2 separate regions of the Homo sapiens genome follow, and region 1 is linked to region 2. Evidence: promoter capture Hi-C in 16 types of primary human blood cells and fetal thymus (Javierre and others, 2016). All regions are on one chromosome and are shown on one strand. Each heading gives the region's core, a stretch centred on a gene start or on the middle of the fragment in contact. The rest is flanking DNA. Distances are from core to core; before and after follow the strand shown. Region 1 holds the start of PCMTD1 (protein-L-isoaspartate (D-aspartate) O-methyltransferase domain containing 1). Region 2 holds the start of MAK16 (MAK16 homolog).

Region 1 (6,237 bases), core at 94-2,593, about 18 Mb after region 2:
TTGGCTTGTAGCCCTTTTCAAAGCTACTGATTATTGAAAACTTGGCGACCATGTTTAACAATGAAGAAAAGGCTTCCCCAAGCCTACGTAGATTGGATTCTCTAATACATAGTAATAATGTTTTTTAAAATAATGAGGTGTGTAATAAAATGGAGGAATATCCATGATGCATTGTTGGCTAATAAAACGATATACTGTACTATATATGATCCCAATCTTGTTTCTAAAGCACACTCATTAAATGCACAGAAAAAAAAAATCCTGAATAACTACCCACCACACTTGGAGACTGGCTACCCTGGGTAGTAAGAAGGAGAAATATGGGGGGAAGGGCGCGAGAGAGGGCAGGTTTCCTCATTGTTTGGCTGCTTCATGTTTTTCTCAAGGAGCAAGCAGTACTTTTGTAATTAAAAAAATAAATAGGGGAAAAACACTGCTAAAAGCATACTTTTTTCCTCCGTAGCAAATTCTTCTGATTTGTAATGTTAAAAATATATCTCTGGTTTCTCGATTCTAAAAAGAGGACACACGAAAACAAAATTATAGAAGTTCCAAAAAATCTTGGATTTGCAAAATTACTCCCTCGGGTTCTGCCCGTGGGTCCTCCCCATGCCGGTGTCTGAAATTCCCCAAGCAAAACGCGGGCACTGCACTTCCCCGGAACGGTAGTAGACGCTCAAAAACACAAAAAGAGGCCTTGGCGCCTGCTATAACCTCTCAGTCCCCTCCCAGCCCCCGAGACTTCCCCGAGTCTACGTAGACTGGATTCTCTGCCTCCAAAACCAAAACAGAAGTCACTGGGCGGATCCAAAACGGCCCTAAGGGGCCCGCGGGCATCTCAAGACGCCAGCCTCGGGACTCTGGTCCCCAAGCCCAGGTCAGAGCCGAGGACGAGCCGAGGACGGGCCGAGGACGCGGCGCCCCGGCCTCCCTCGGGCCCCCGACCTCCCCGGCCCCAGGGACCCCGGCTCCCGACCTCCAGGCTTCGCTGGGCCCCTTTCGACTCCCCGACCTCCCAAGTCCTCCGCCCCCGGCCCGTCCTTCCCCCAACCTGCCCCGCAGCGCCTCAGTTTCCTGGCCCCCGACCTGCCCGCCCTTAAGTCCCCCTGCCCCCGACTCTTCGGCTGCCGTCCCCCTGGCCCTCTGGCCTCCAAGCGCATCCCAGTCGCCCGCCCGGCCCTAGCACGCGGGACTCGCACACCCCACGACCCCGAGCCCCCACTGGCGGCGGCGTTACCTGTGGCGCGGGCAGCGGCGCGCAGGCCAGGCGCTAGGACTCGGCGGGGTCCGCAGCAGCCAGACGCCGCTACCACCACAATAACAACACGGACGCCACCGCCGAGTGGAGAGGCGGGGCCCGGACCCGCGACTGGAGCAGCCAGAGCCTCCCGGACTCCGGAGCCGCCGGGGTCCGGGCATGCGCAGAGAACCACGGGCACAGGGGCAGCTCCCCGCGGACGCCAAAGTCAACAAGGCCGGGAGACGCCCCCATCTGGCCCCGCCCCCCTCAGGGCTCGCTCCGCCCCCAAGCCCAAACAACGCGAGGCCTTGACAGGCCAGAAGACGATGGCGGTAGGGGAGATCACGCGAGAGCATGGCCTCCACCTCTCCTCCCCACCGCCATCTCCACGTTCTCGCACCGGCGCTGGGGTGCAGGCTTTCAGTGGTCTCAGGGCTACGGCTTGTCGGTGCCTCGCCGCACAGTCCCCTTTGCATTGAAGGACACGGTCTTACGGTGTAGGAGCATTTTTGAGGTGCATTCCTGGATTTGGAGGCGAACCCCCAATGGTTACCTCCACAGAGGCTTTGCGAAGGGCGCTCACTGACTTAGGTGAAGAGCGAAGGCTCAAGACTGTGCCGCTTTATAGTGGCCCCTTGACGTCCAGAAGTTCCCCCCAGCGCCGGTCATAAGCACTCCCGCCGCCTGGGCCCCGCCCTGCCTGCCAGGCGCCCTCCAGCCTCAGCTCCCGGACGCCCGGCGTGGCCGCTTTCTCGCGTCTTGCTGACCCGGGCCGGGGGCGTGTGCTCCTCCTGCAGCGGACGGAAGATGCTGGGCCACGCAAGTTTCCCTGGGCTTGGTTAACCACCCCAAAGCCCATTTCCAGAAGGAAAGGGTGTTGAGGAGGAGGGATAGAAAGTCGAGAAGAGGGCCGGGTGAGTGGCTCACGCCTGTCATCCCAGCACTTTGGGAGGCCGAGACAGGCGGATCACCTGAGGTCAGGACTTAGAGACCAGCCTGGCCTACATGGTGAAACCCCGTCTCTACTAAAAATACAAAAATTAGCCGGGTGTGGTGCCGTGCGCCTGTAGTCCCAGCAACTCGGGAGGCTGAGGTAGGAGAATCGCTTGAACCCGGGAGTCGGAGGTTGCAGTGCTGAGATGGCACCTGGCCTGGGCGGCAAGAGCGAAACTCCATCTCAAAAAAAAAAAGAAGAGGAAATGAGGCATAGGGGCAGGCGAGCCGGGAAAATATTGCTACTAAGGATCCTAAGCAGTGAACATGCTGTTAATACTTGTAAGACTCCTAGCAAACTGCATTTAATTTTTTAAATTAGTTTTAGTGTACATAAAGGCATGTCTTTTCCAAATACTGTACTTTTTGAAGTGTTCTTTGTTGTTCATTAATCTTTGTGCGTTTCCCTTCAGTCTCTAATAGTAGGTTGTAGCATGATTTGCTTCCATCGTGTGAATTCTGTTCGGTTTTGATTTTCAAGTATGAGAGTGAGCGTAAGCTACCCTTATAGGTTACCTAAGGTAAGTTAGAATTAGAACGTCTTTATGCTAGGGTTACTACTCCCCACCATAACCAACCATCTGCAAAAGCGTTCAGAAAGAACATGCTAGCAAGGTCAAAAGCTTCAAATCACGAAATAAGAACTTGAAAACGAGCAAAATTGCTGCTGAGGCGCTCTGCCATTTAACTCAAAGGCTTCACTTTATTTAGGTTTAAAGTATGAGTGCATATTCAGTGGACATTGAGCTCCGAACTGTTCAAAATCTCTATTCATCTGCATTCTGGAGTAGAGCTGCGGGTCACATTATTAGCTCCATCTTTGGATTTCTGCCTGGACCCAGGGCACTCCTAACCGTTGTGGGATCATATAACAATCTTACAGGATGAATTTTCTGTTAGTCCAAGCAGAAATTTTGGCACATGAAAACTATCTTACCATAAACAAACAAAAAAAGTACAAATGGTAATCTAAGGAAAATAGCTAAAATCATTAAACAACTCTTACAGCCGTTTCCCCTGTTTTCTCTCCATTTTTTAAAAGCATATTTTCCTTTACTTTCTTCCTTCTGCTATGGGAATTTTTCAGGGTTCTAGACCTTTTTTCTCTTCTGCGGCTGGAAAGTTAAACACAGGTCATTTTTTAAATAAGACTGCTAGTAAATACCTTCTTAATAAACAACACCAAATGCTAGTCTTGTGGGTGAGTAGTTGAACAGCAAGTAAAGCACTCTATCACCTGTAATTTTCCTGTGGTAGGCACACCCCATCTCTACCTTCACGTAATTTCTGATTATGCCTCCATACCTTACACATATAATTCATTTGTGGGTGGGGGCGACAGAGTCTTTTGCTCTTTTGCCCAGGCTGGAGTGCAGTGGCAACCTCTGCTCACTGCAACCTCCACCTCCCGGCTTCAAGCAGTTCTGCCTCAGCCTCCCAAGTAGCTAGGATCACAGGAGCGCACCACCACCCCCTGCTAATTTTTGTATTTTTAGTAGAGATGGGGTTTCCCCTGTTGGCTAGGCTGGCCTCAAACTCCGATCTCAAGTGATCCACCCGCCTCGGCCTCCCAAAGTGTTGGGATTACAGGCATGAGCCACCACGTCTGGCTATAATTCACTTCTTGTGTGTGACTTCCTACTAATTTGTAATCATGAAAGTTGGGCACATACCCAGTATGCTCACTATTTCTCTGCAGGGCCTGATACAGTGGCTGCTACAACACTGATACTCTGCATTTGTTGAATGAGTAATTTAAATTTTAAATTATCATCTAGAATCATTTAGAGATTTATTTAGACTTTGATAAATTTAGATAACCCACACACAGTTTATTCCTAGAGTTCTTGATACATTGTTACAGTAAGTTTGGTCCTGGCAACAGCAATAACACTTACTGTAATAACTTAATTCTTCATACGAGGTTGCTTCACTTTTATTATTAAGCAGAAAATACCCAAAGTAAAATTGAGCTATTTGGGACTCCTTTCAGAATACTGTGTAGGCTGAAGCATTGTTGTATCAGAAGTGCTCTGTTATTTGAATGCATAAGGTATTCAACAAACAAATGCTTATTAAATTAAATGGTATTCAGCATACAGCTACTGTCACCGTGCTAGGAGTTCACATTTTTCATATGCGTGGCAGTTAGCACTGGTGCATGTTTCCTTCAGCCTCAGAAATGGAGGTGTCTGCGTGTTGCCCAGATCTACCTTGAAAACTCTAGTTGCTTCCTAACACCTAGGTTGTATAGTGGGACTTGATTATGTTTTATAAAGCCAAGTCTGGTCTGTGAGGACTGAAAGGATTTCCTCATCTTAACTCTAATTTGGCCTGCAATGTCTGGGGAAAACCCAAAACTAAAATGTAACTAAATGTGGAACTGTTTTTTTCTGCAGTTTGATTTCCTTGTACCATTTTCAGTACAGTTAAATTCATCACCTCCCCTACCTCACCATCCCCCTCCCCCTGCAAAAAAAAAAAAAGCAAAAACAGAAGTATTTTCTCTCTTAAAGAGAATTGTCATTGGCCAGGCACAGTGGCTCACGACTATAGTCCCAGCCCTATAGGAAGCAGAGGTGGGAGAATCATTTGAGCTCAGAAGTTGCAAGATTTCAAGATCAGCCTGAGCAACATAGTGAGACCTCATCTCTGCAAAAAATTTAAAAATTACCTGAGTGTGGTGATGCATGCCTGTAGTCCCAGCTATTCCAGAAGCTGAGATGGGAGGATTACTTGAGCCCAGGAGTTAGTTTCTAATTGGATGTAGTCTGCACAGGCAGATTTCATTTTCAGTATTAAAAAGGTCAGTAATTTCTGAAATATTCACTTGACAATTAATAGGATTAAATGACTTTGGGAAAGCATAATTTTATTTTAAATTGCACATATAATCCCTCAATTACATAGATTTTAATGCTAGGATAATCTTCCAATAAAAGGAAATATAAGTTATCAAAAAATGAATTTCTTTTAGAAAAATAAGCATTTATAATTTATTGTCTACAGTAAACAAAAAGTGACTTTAACTCACAAGTTAAAATTACTCTTATATGGTGCTTAATCTATATAAATATCTTTCCTTTATTAAAAATTCTGCTTCTTAAAAAACAGAATCATGGAGTGGAGAAAAAGGAAAACTTCTGCTTGTAAACTTAAGTGCATCAAAACTGTGGATAAACATCTTTTTAATGTATATGTAAAATTTAATATTTTTTAAAGAATCTATTAAAGTTCAATAAACATTTTCTGACACTATGATAGATGCTGAGGATATTGCAATAATATATGATATAGCTTCTGTCTTAATAAACTTACATTCAAATAATAGAAGGAGGAAAGTGACCCTTGACATAATAGTAAGGGTACAAATAAAATACTCTTGCTCCATAGTAGTGTTCCATGGCAGAAGTCAAATTTGAATCAAGCTTTGAAATTTGAATAGAATTTTTGAATTATGGAGATAAAGAGAATAGCTATTTTAGGAACATGGAATATAAAAGAATAACGCTTACATAGATCATTTGTTTTCAAAGAGCAGAGATTAATCTGATTTAGCTAGAACATAGAATGCAAAAAGGATAATGGGAGCTAAGCCTAGAAAGATAGACTGCAGCCAGATTTTGGTGGTCATTAGATTGGATGCAACAGCCAGCAAGGAGCCAAAACTTAAGTGTTCACTTTTATGTAAATGTAGCTGACGCAAGTACCTTGTATTAGAACTAAAAATTATGCTGTATATAACTATTACTGTAGTTAGGTGAAACCATTTCAGAGTCTGCTTTAGTGATTCATAGTGTAAATGAAGTTACTGTGTTTATGTGTGTGTGTGTGTGCACATTATATGTATGTATGTGTGTTTTTAAGTATGACATTTGAATTCTGAAATGAAGATGAAAAAGGCTTTGGTCAGTAAACCTGTCTTTCTTGGTCAGATACTGAACCACAGTAGTAAGTCCAGGCACTGAAATGATAATTCATATGTATGGATTCTTCTTGGCTCT
Region 2 (6,866 bases), core at 413-2,912:
AAGTGATTCTCCTGCCTCAGCCTCCCAAGTAGCGGGGACTACAGGTGCCCACCACCACGCCTGGTTAAGTTTTGTATTTTTAGTAGAGATGGGGTTTCACCACGTTGGCCCGTCTGGTCTTGAACTTCTGACCTCGGGTGATCCACCTGCCTCGGCCTCCCAAAATGCTGATTACAGGCGTGAGCCACCAAGCCCAGCCTATTTATTGATTATATGCTAAACACGGAGCGGATTACTTACGCCTCTCCTTTTTAGACCATATAGAGTAATTTCCTGATGTTGCCATGGCATTTGTGGCGCCAGTGGGAGTGTAGCAGTGAGGACGACCAGAGGTCAAACTCATTGCCATCTTGGTTTTGTGGGTCTTGACTGGCTTCTTTACTGCAATCTGTTTTATCAGCAACATCCTTATGACCTGTATTTTGTGCTGACCTCATCCTGTGATTTAGATGGCCTGACCCTCGGGAATGCAGCCTAGCAGATCTCAGCCTTATTTTACCCAGCCACTATTCAAGATGGGGTTGCTCTGGTTCAAATGCCTCTTGACAGTCTTTCTTTCCTTTTCTTTTTTCTTTTTCTTTTTTTTTTTTTGAGAGGTAGTTTTGGTTGTCACCCAGGCTGGAGGGCCACAGCATGATCTCGGCTCACTGCAACCTCCGCCTCCCGGGTTCAAGCGATTCTCCTGCCTCAGCCTCCCAAGTAGCTGGGATTACAGGCACCTGCTACCACGCCCGACTAATTTTTGTATTTTTAGTAGAGACGGGATTTCACTATGTTGGCCAGGCTGGTCTGGAACTCGCCCGCCTAGGCCGCCCAAAGTGCTGAGGTACAGGCGAGAGCCACCGCGCCCGGCCCGGCCGACAGTCTTTCTTCTATAATACGATACAAACTAGTAAAGATTTTCTTTTTCCCCTGGCGGAAAAGAGCTGTTAGGCTTCCAGATTTGTTTTTGTGGGTTATTAGACCTCTACTTTTCTTCTTGGTATTTTCCCTCCCTTATCAACTTTGTTTGTTGTCTCAAATAGGCAATGAGGAAGACACAGGTGTTTATTATTATTGGAATGCTCTTTCCATTTGGTCAGTGGTTTCTCAAAGCAGGAGGAATTCAAGTTCTGAGTTTCTAAAGTCAGGACCCGGTGCCGCACCCAACGTGGGCGTGGGGAGTGGCTAAGTCAGGGTCTGAGGGGCAGGGCCGGGGCCTGGCTGCGAGCTGGGGCCGGGGGACTCGGAGGAGCGGGGACCCAGCCCCGCCGCGCCGCCTGCAGCTTTCCCCAGCCTCCTCCCAGCAGAGGGGAGGCCCGACAGGGAGGGGTCCCATCCTCATGAACGGTCACAAACAGGGCGCTAGGGAAGCACGCCCGACCCCCGCGGTCCCCGCGCTCCAGGATTCGGCAGACTGCGCGCGTCCTGCCTCCCGCGGATCGCACTGGGTCCCAACAGGGTTCCCAGCTCCAGGCTGCGCCCATGAACAAGCCCAGCATTGCGGACGGGCGCGCGCAGACGCCAGCGTGGTGAAGACGCGGGGGCGCGCGCGCGGCGACGAGACTGCCAGGGGACGCTTCGCAACACCGAGAGTCTCAGCGTTTCTCGAGATAGGTGAGGCTGCGCGTTCCGGAACTGGTTTCCCGGAAGGAGCATGTCTGCGCCCGCGATCCGACCGGAAGTTGCACGCTGAGCCGCGGACACCATGCAGTCGGATGATGTGAGTCTCCTCCGGTTGTTCTTACACCCGGGGTTTGCGCAGGGAATTTTGCCCATTTTCGGACACTTAGAAAACGCGTACGCAGCGGGTCTGTTGCCTCGTGCCGCTCTGGATGTGAGGCTTCCGGAACCCCGATTTTCCAACATAGGTTCTCACGCGTGTCTAGCAGGGGTTTACTGCCCGCTGCCCCGGCCGGGTTGTGAGCACAGGACTCCGTCACCTCAGCCCATGGGGTCGATGTGTCCCGTCCTTCGTGCCTACCAATGCAGGACGTCGCGTCATGCTGTCAGCTGTCAGCTGTCAGCTCCGGACTTGGGGTGGGGGGCGGCCCGGGATTTGGCGAAGCTGACTCCAAGTTTAAGCGTCCTTCTCATCCATGTGCGCGTTACTCTTCCATCTGCGTTTCCTGTGTAGGCTTTTCTTTACATTTGCTCTACTTCTGCCTAAGTCATAATTTCGGAAGTATCCTAGATTCATTCATTGAGTTTTTTGTTGGAGAAATAACAGTGTGCTTACAGTGTGCCAGGCATTGTGGTAATTATTGAGGATTTGGTTAACCAGAAAAAATGTCCCACCTCTCCTGGAACACTGATGGGGGAGACACAGTAAACAAGTGAACAAATAAGTTAACAATTACACTATATAATCATACTATGAAAGAAAGACCAGAGATGATGAAGGACACTTCAGATAGGGTTACTCAGGGAAGGTTTCTCTGAACAGAAGATGTTTGAGTTGAGATCTAAAAGATAAGAATAAGCCAGTCACTGAGGAGCTGAGGAAAAAGCAATCCAGGCAGTAGGAACAGTAAAGTACAAAGAGTTGAAGATATGAGAGAATGAATATAAGGGTCATCAAAGTGACAATGTAAGACAGGTAATGAAATTAGATATGCTTGCCAGGGCGAGGTCATGCAGAATCTTGTAGGAAGTGTTTTTTAGGCCTTTTAATGATCTATGTTTGTGAAAAGTTGTCTAGTTGCTGTGTGAAGGACTTTTGGAGGGAAAAAATGAAAGCAAGGAGACTAGGGTATGACAAAGGTTGCTTCAAGCCAGACACAGTGGCTCATGCCTGTAATCCCAACGCTTTGGGAGGCTGGGGCTGGAGGATCGCTTGAGGCCAGGAGTTCGATTCCAGCCTAGGCAATAAAGTGAGACTCCATCTCTACAAAAAATAAAAAATTAGCTGGGCGCGGTGGTGTTCGCCTGAGGTCCCAGTTACTTCGAAGGCTGAGGCAGAAGGACTACTTGAGCCGAAAAGTCCGAGGCTGCAGTGAGCTATGATGGCACCACTGCACTCCAGCCTGGGTGACAGAGAGACCCTATCTCTAAAGTAAATAAATTTTTTTAAAAACGAAAGTGGCTTCGCCTAAGGTAGTAATTTAATGGTGGAGATGAAAAGAAATTGATGAATTTGAGACCTTTTACGTCAGTATAATTGACAAGACTTTGGTGATGGATTAAGTGAAGAAGAAAAGGAAGAAATCAAAGGATTTGGGATATAAATACATAGTTAAATGGTGATTTTATTTATTGAAGTGGGGGAACTCTAGGGAAGACTGTTCTTACGAGGGATGTGGAATTGAGAACTCCTTGTGGATATGTTAATATTTATGTTGCCTTTTAGATATTGAAGAGATGTCATATAAAAATCTGGTGCTCAGGAAAGAAGTCTGACCAGAAAATAACAATTTAGGAGTCATCCATTTAGAGATGATACTTAAAGCCACAAGCCTAAAAGAGCTCCCTTATTCTTCTTACCTGTTTCCTACCATCCCCCACCAGACACACCTATAAAATTCTTAAAGTGTGTTTTATTCTTTTGCCCTCTTCATATTTTTCCTTTAACAGTGGTAAAGCTTTTTTTTACCCCAGTTCCTCAAGGCAGCGCACTCAAAGGCTGTCATACTCTTACGCATGCTATGTGGCCTTTAGACCTGCTATTTTGTGATACTTTGTTTACATATCTTTCCCCTAACTAGATAGACGAAACTCTTTAAAGAGTATACTTTCTTTCATTCAGCAAATACTTAAGTGGCTACTGTGTGTCAGGACTTGGAGATGTCAGTGCCTTACATAAATTAAGTATATAATGCTGAATGAATAAAGAGCACATTAAGTACAGGAGGATAGCAGTAGATAGTTTTCTTTGCCCTCAATGAGATAAAATTATGGTATGTATATCTAAAAATCTAATACCATGAAGCCTTTTTTTTTTTTTTGGAGATGGATTCTCACTCTGTCGCCCAGGCTGGAGTGCAGTGGCGTGATCTCGGCTTACCGCAACTTCTGCCTCCTGGGTTCAAGCGATTCTCCTGCCTCAGCCTCTCAAGTAGCTGGGATTACAGGCACCTGCCACCACACCTGGCTAATTTTTCTATTAGTAGAGATGGGGTTTCACCATGTTGGCCAGGCTGGCCTCAAACTCCCAACCTCAAGTGATCCGCCTGCCTTGGCACTCAAAGTGCTGGGATTACAGGTGTGAGCCACTACACCCGGCCCATGAGAGCCTTTAATAATGGATAATGAACATAAGTAAAAAGGGAAAGTTACGAAGTATATAAAATGTGATTTCACAGAGTATGTCAAAAAAAGTCTGGAAAAATATTTACAGAATAGTAATGAAATTTTATCTCTGGGTAATGGAGTTATGATTATTGCTCATCTGTATTTAGCTTTTCTATAAGAATCTGCTGGGCTTTTTTGTTTTGTTTTGTTTTGTTTTGAGACGGAGTTTCACTCTTGTTGTCCAGGCTGGAGCGCAATGGCACAATCTCGGCTCACCGCAACCTCCCTCTCCTGGGTTCAAGCGATTCTCCTGCCCCAGCCTCCCGAGTAGCTAGGATTACAGGCATGCGCCACCATGCCCAGCTAATTTTGTATTTTTAATATAAACAGGGTTTCTCCATGTTAATCAGGCTGGTCTCAAACTCCTCACCTCAGGTGATCCGCCCAACTCAGCCTCCCAAAGTGCTGGGATTACAGGCGTGAGCCACCGTGCCCGGCCTTGCTGTTTGTATTTTAAAAAGTAAACAAGTCAGGCTATTTTACAAAACATTTCTTCCTCTCATTCCTGTCCTTGGGCATTGCCTTCTTGAATTAATATAGTATCTCTTGGGGCAGAGGATTTGAAATGGGCTTTTACTTTGTCTTGCAGGTTATCTGGGATACACTAGGAAACAAGCAATTTTGTTCCTTCAAAATAAGGTGAGTCTCAATTTACAACTTGGTCAAAGATTCCTTCAGTTGCCTCTTTGGCAACCCATTTTATAATCTTTGTTTCTTTTCTCCCATTCTAGAACCAAGACTCAGAGCTTCTGCCGAAATGAATATAGCCTGACTGGACTGTGTAATCGGTCATCCTGTCCCCTGGCAAATAGTCAGTATGCCACTATTAAAGAAGAGAAAGGTAACTCCCCAGTTTTAACTTCTAGAAGAACTGCTCCACAGCTTTTACAGGGATGTTCTTTAGTTTCTGTAAATAACACTAAAGCTATTTTACTTTATCTTCAGGACAGTGCTACTTGTATATGAAGGTTATAGAACGAGCGGCTTTTCCTCGGCGTCTCTGGGAACGGGTAAGCCTTACAACAAAACTACAGTGACCGCTGATCAAGAGCATCAAAGCCACATGCTTGACCATGATGCCCAATTCCATGACCATTAACTTTTGAGGCCATCCTCATTAGGCCATGGGTGTCACTGACAGTGAAAACCTAATGAATCATTTACACTTGCCCTTCAAACTTCCTGTTTCTGTTTGGTAGGTCCGGCTTAGTAAAAACTATGAGAAAGCACTGGAGCAAATAGATGAAAATCTGATTTACTGGCCCCGTTTCATTCGACACAAATGTAAGCAGAGATTCACCAAGATCACCCAATACCTAATTCGAATTAGAAAACTTACACTAAAGCGACAGTAAGTATTTGGATCATTCATTATTTTTAAATCTCTCTTTTTATGGAGCTTGTTTTGAAGTTGAGAAATTGTGAAACTTCGGGGCTTTCTATTCAACTTTGTGGAGTCTGTTATGATGTACTAAAGAGAAACTTTAGCTTTGACTAAAGGTGTGCCCTTTGATATGGCAGGACTTTTAAAACAGTAGAATACAACTTGATTATCACCCTCCTTGTCTGAAAATCTTTCAGAAAATTTTATTTTCTTTTTTGTTAAGACGGAGTCTCACTCTGTCGCCCAGGCTGGAATTTGCAGTGGCGCGACCTCAGCTCACTGCAACCTCCATCTCCCCGGTTGAAGCAATCCTCCCACCTCAGCCTCCTGAGCAGCTAGGATTACAGGCATGGACCACCATGCCTGGTTAATTTTTTTTGTATTTTTAGTAGAGATGGGGTTTCACCATGTTGGCCAGGCTGGTCTAGAATTCCTGACCTCAAGCGATCCGCCTTAGCCTCCCAAAGTGCTGGGATTACAGGCATGAGCCACCATGCCCAGCCTTCAGAAAATTTCCTCTATGACCCCCGAGGGAATCTTAACTTTAGAGATTTGAAAATGATCTAAGACATGTGACTATACAGGAATGTAAGAACTTTACTCTGGATTCACTGAAAACTAATTTTTAAAAGTGATATGAAATCCCCAGAATTAACAGAATACCTTCTCTAGGACTGTTAGGCCCTAATGCTTTTTGACTGTGATCTACATAGAATGCTAAAGATGATGTCAGACTTCGACAGAAAATTCTTTTTTCTTAGTTCACTGAAGTCTTAATTTTAGCATGGTGAATGCCCTGAGAATCCCAGAATGCCTGAACAAAAATGGCCGGATTAAAATACATGTAAAAATATATGACTTTTTATAGTATTAAATTTCTAGAAGCGTTTAGTGTATCTTGCTGTATTGAGCTGAGCCCTACAGCACCAACCTTGGGCTCCAAGGCTTGTTTGAATCGCTAGCCTCCGTGAATGCCTGAAGCTCAGCCATCCTGCCCTGCACATGAGTAGACTTCCATTTTAGTCACCAATTCCAATCCTTTTTTCTTCTCATCCTTAAAAAGGAACACAGCACATGACAGTGGATTTTCTGATATATTTTCTTTCCCTTAGGAGGAAACTTGTTCCTTTGAGTAAGAAGGTGGAGCGTAGGGAGAAAAGAAGAGAGGTAACTTATTGTTGAGATATTCATACCTTCTACATTTTCTTTCTGG

Evidence for each region. The method cuts DNA at HindIII sites, captures the fragments that hold promoters and counts their contacts. A CHiCAGO score of 5 or more calls a contact.
Region 1: the fragment with the promoter of PCMTD1 here is called in contact with the fragment with the promoter of MAK16 in region 2 in 1 of 17 cell types (non-activated CD4 T cells); the score reaches 6.0 in non-activated CD4 T cells.

What each region holds. Positions count from the first base shown.
Region 1 is chr8:51,897,693-51,903,929 of GRCh38, forward strand. PCMTD1 (protein-L-isoaspartate (D-aspartate) O-methyltransferase domain containing 1) reads right to left here and starts at 1,344. Exons shown (of 6, transcript NM_052937.4): 1 at 1,238-1,344. PCMTD1-DT (PCMTD1 divergent transcript) reads left to right here and starts at 1,623. Exons shown (of 4, transcript NR_189279.1): 1 at 1,623-2,154. RefSeq lists a silencer at 851-1,540 and enhancers at 1,581-1,870, 2,041-2,100, 2,401-2,460. The HindIII fragment of the contact is 4,691 bases long and covers 1-2,854 here.
Region 2 is chr8:33,483,520-33,490,385 of GRCh38, forward strand. It overlaps MAK16 (MAK16 homolog), which reads left to right and starts at 1,663. Exons shown (of 10, transcript NM_032509.4): 1 at 1,663-1,702; 2 at 4,859-4,908; 3 at 5,001-5,110; 4 at 5,215-5,279; 5 at 5,469-5,620; 6 at 6,766-6,820. The coding sequence starts at 1,688. RefSeq lists enhancers at 819-1,455, 1,443-1,592 and silencers at 1,083-1,272, 1,483-1,670. The HindIII fragment of the contact is 3,746 bases long and covers 1-3,558 here.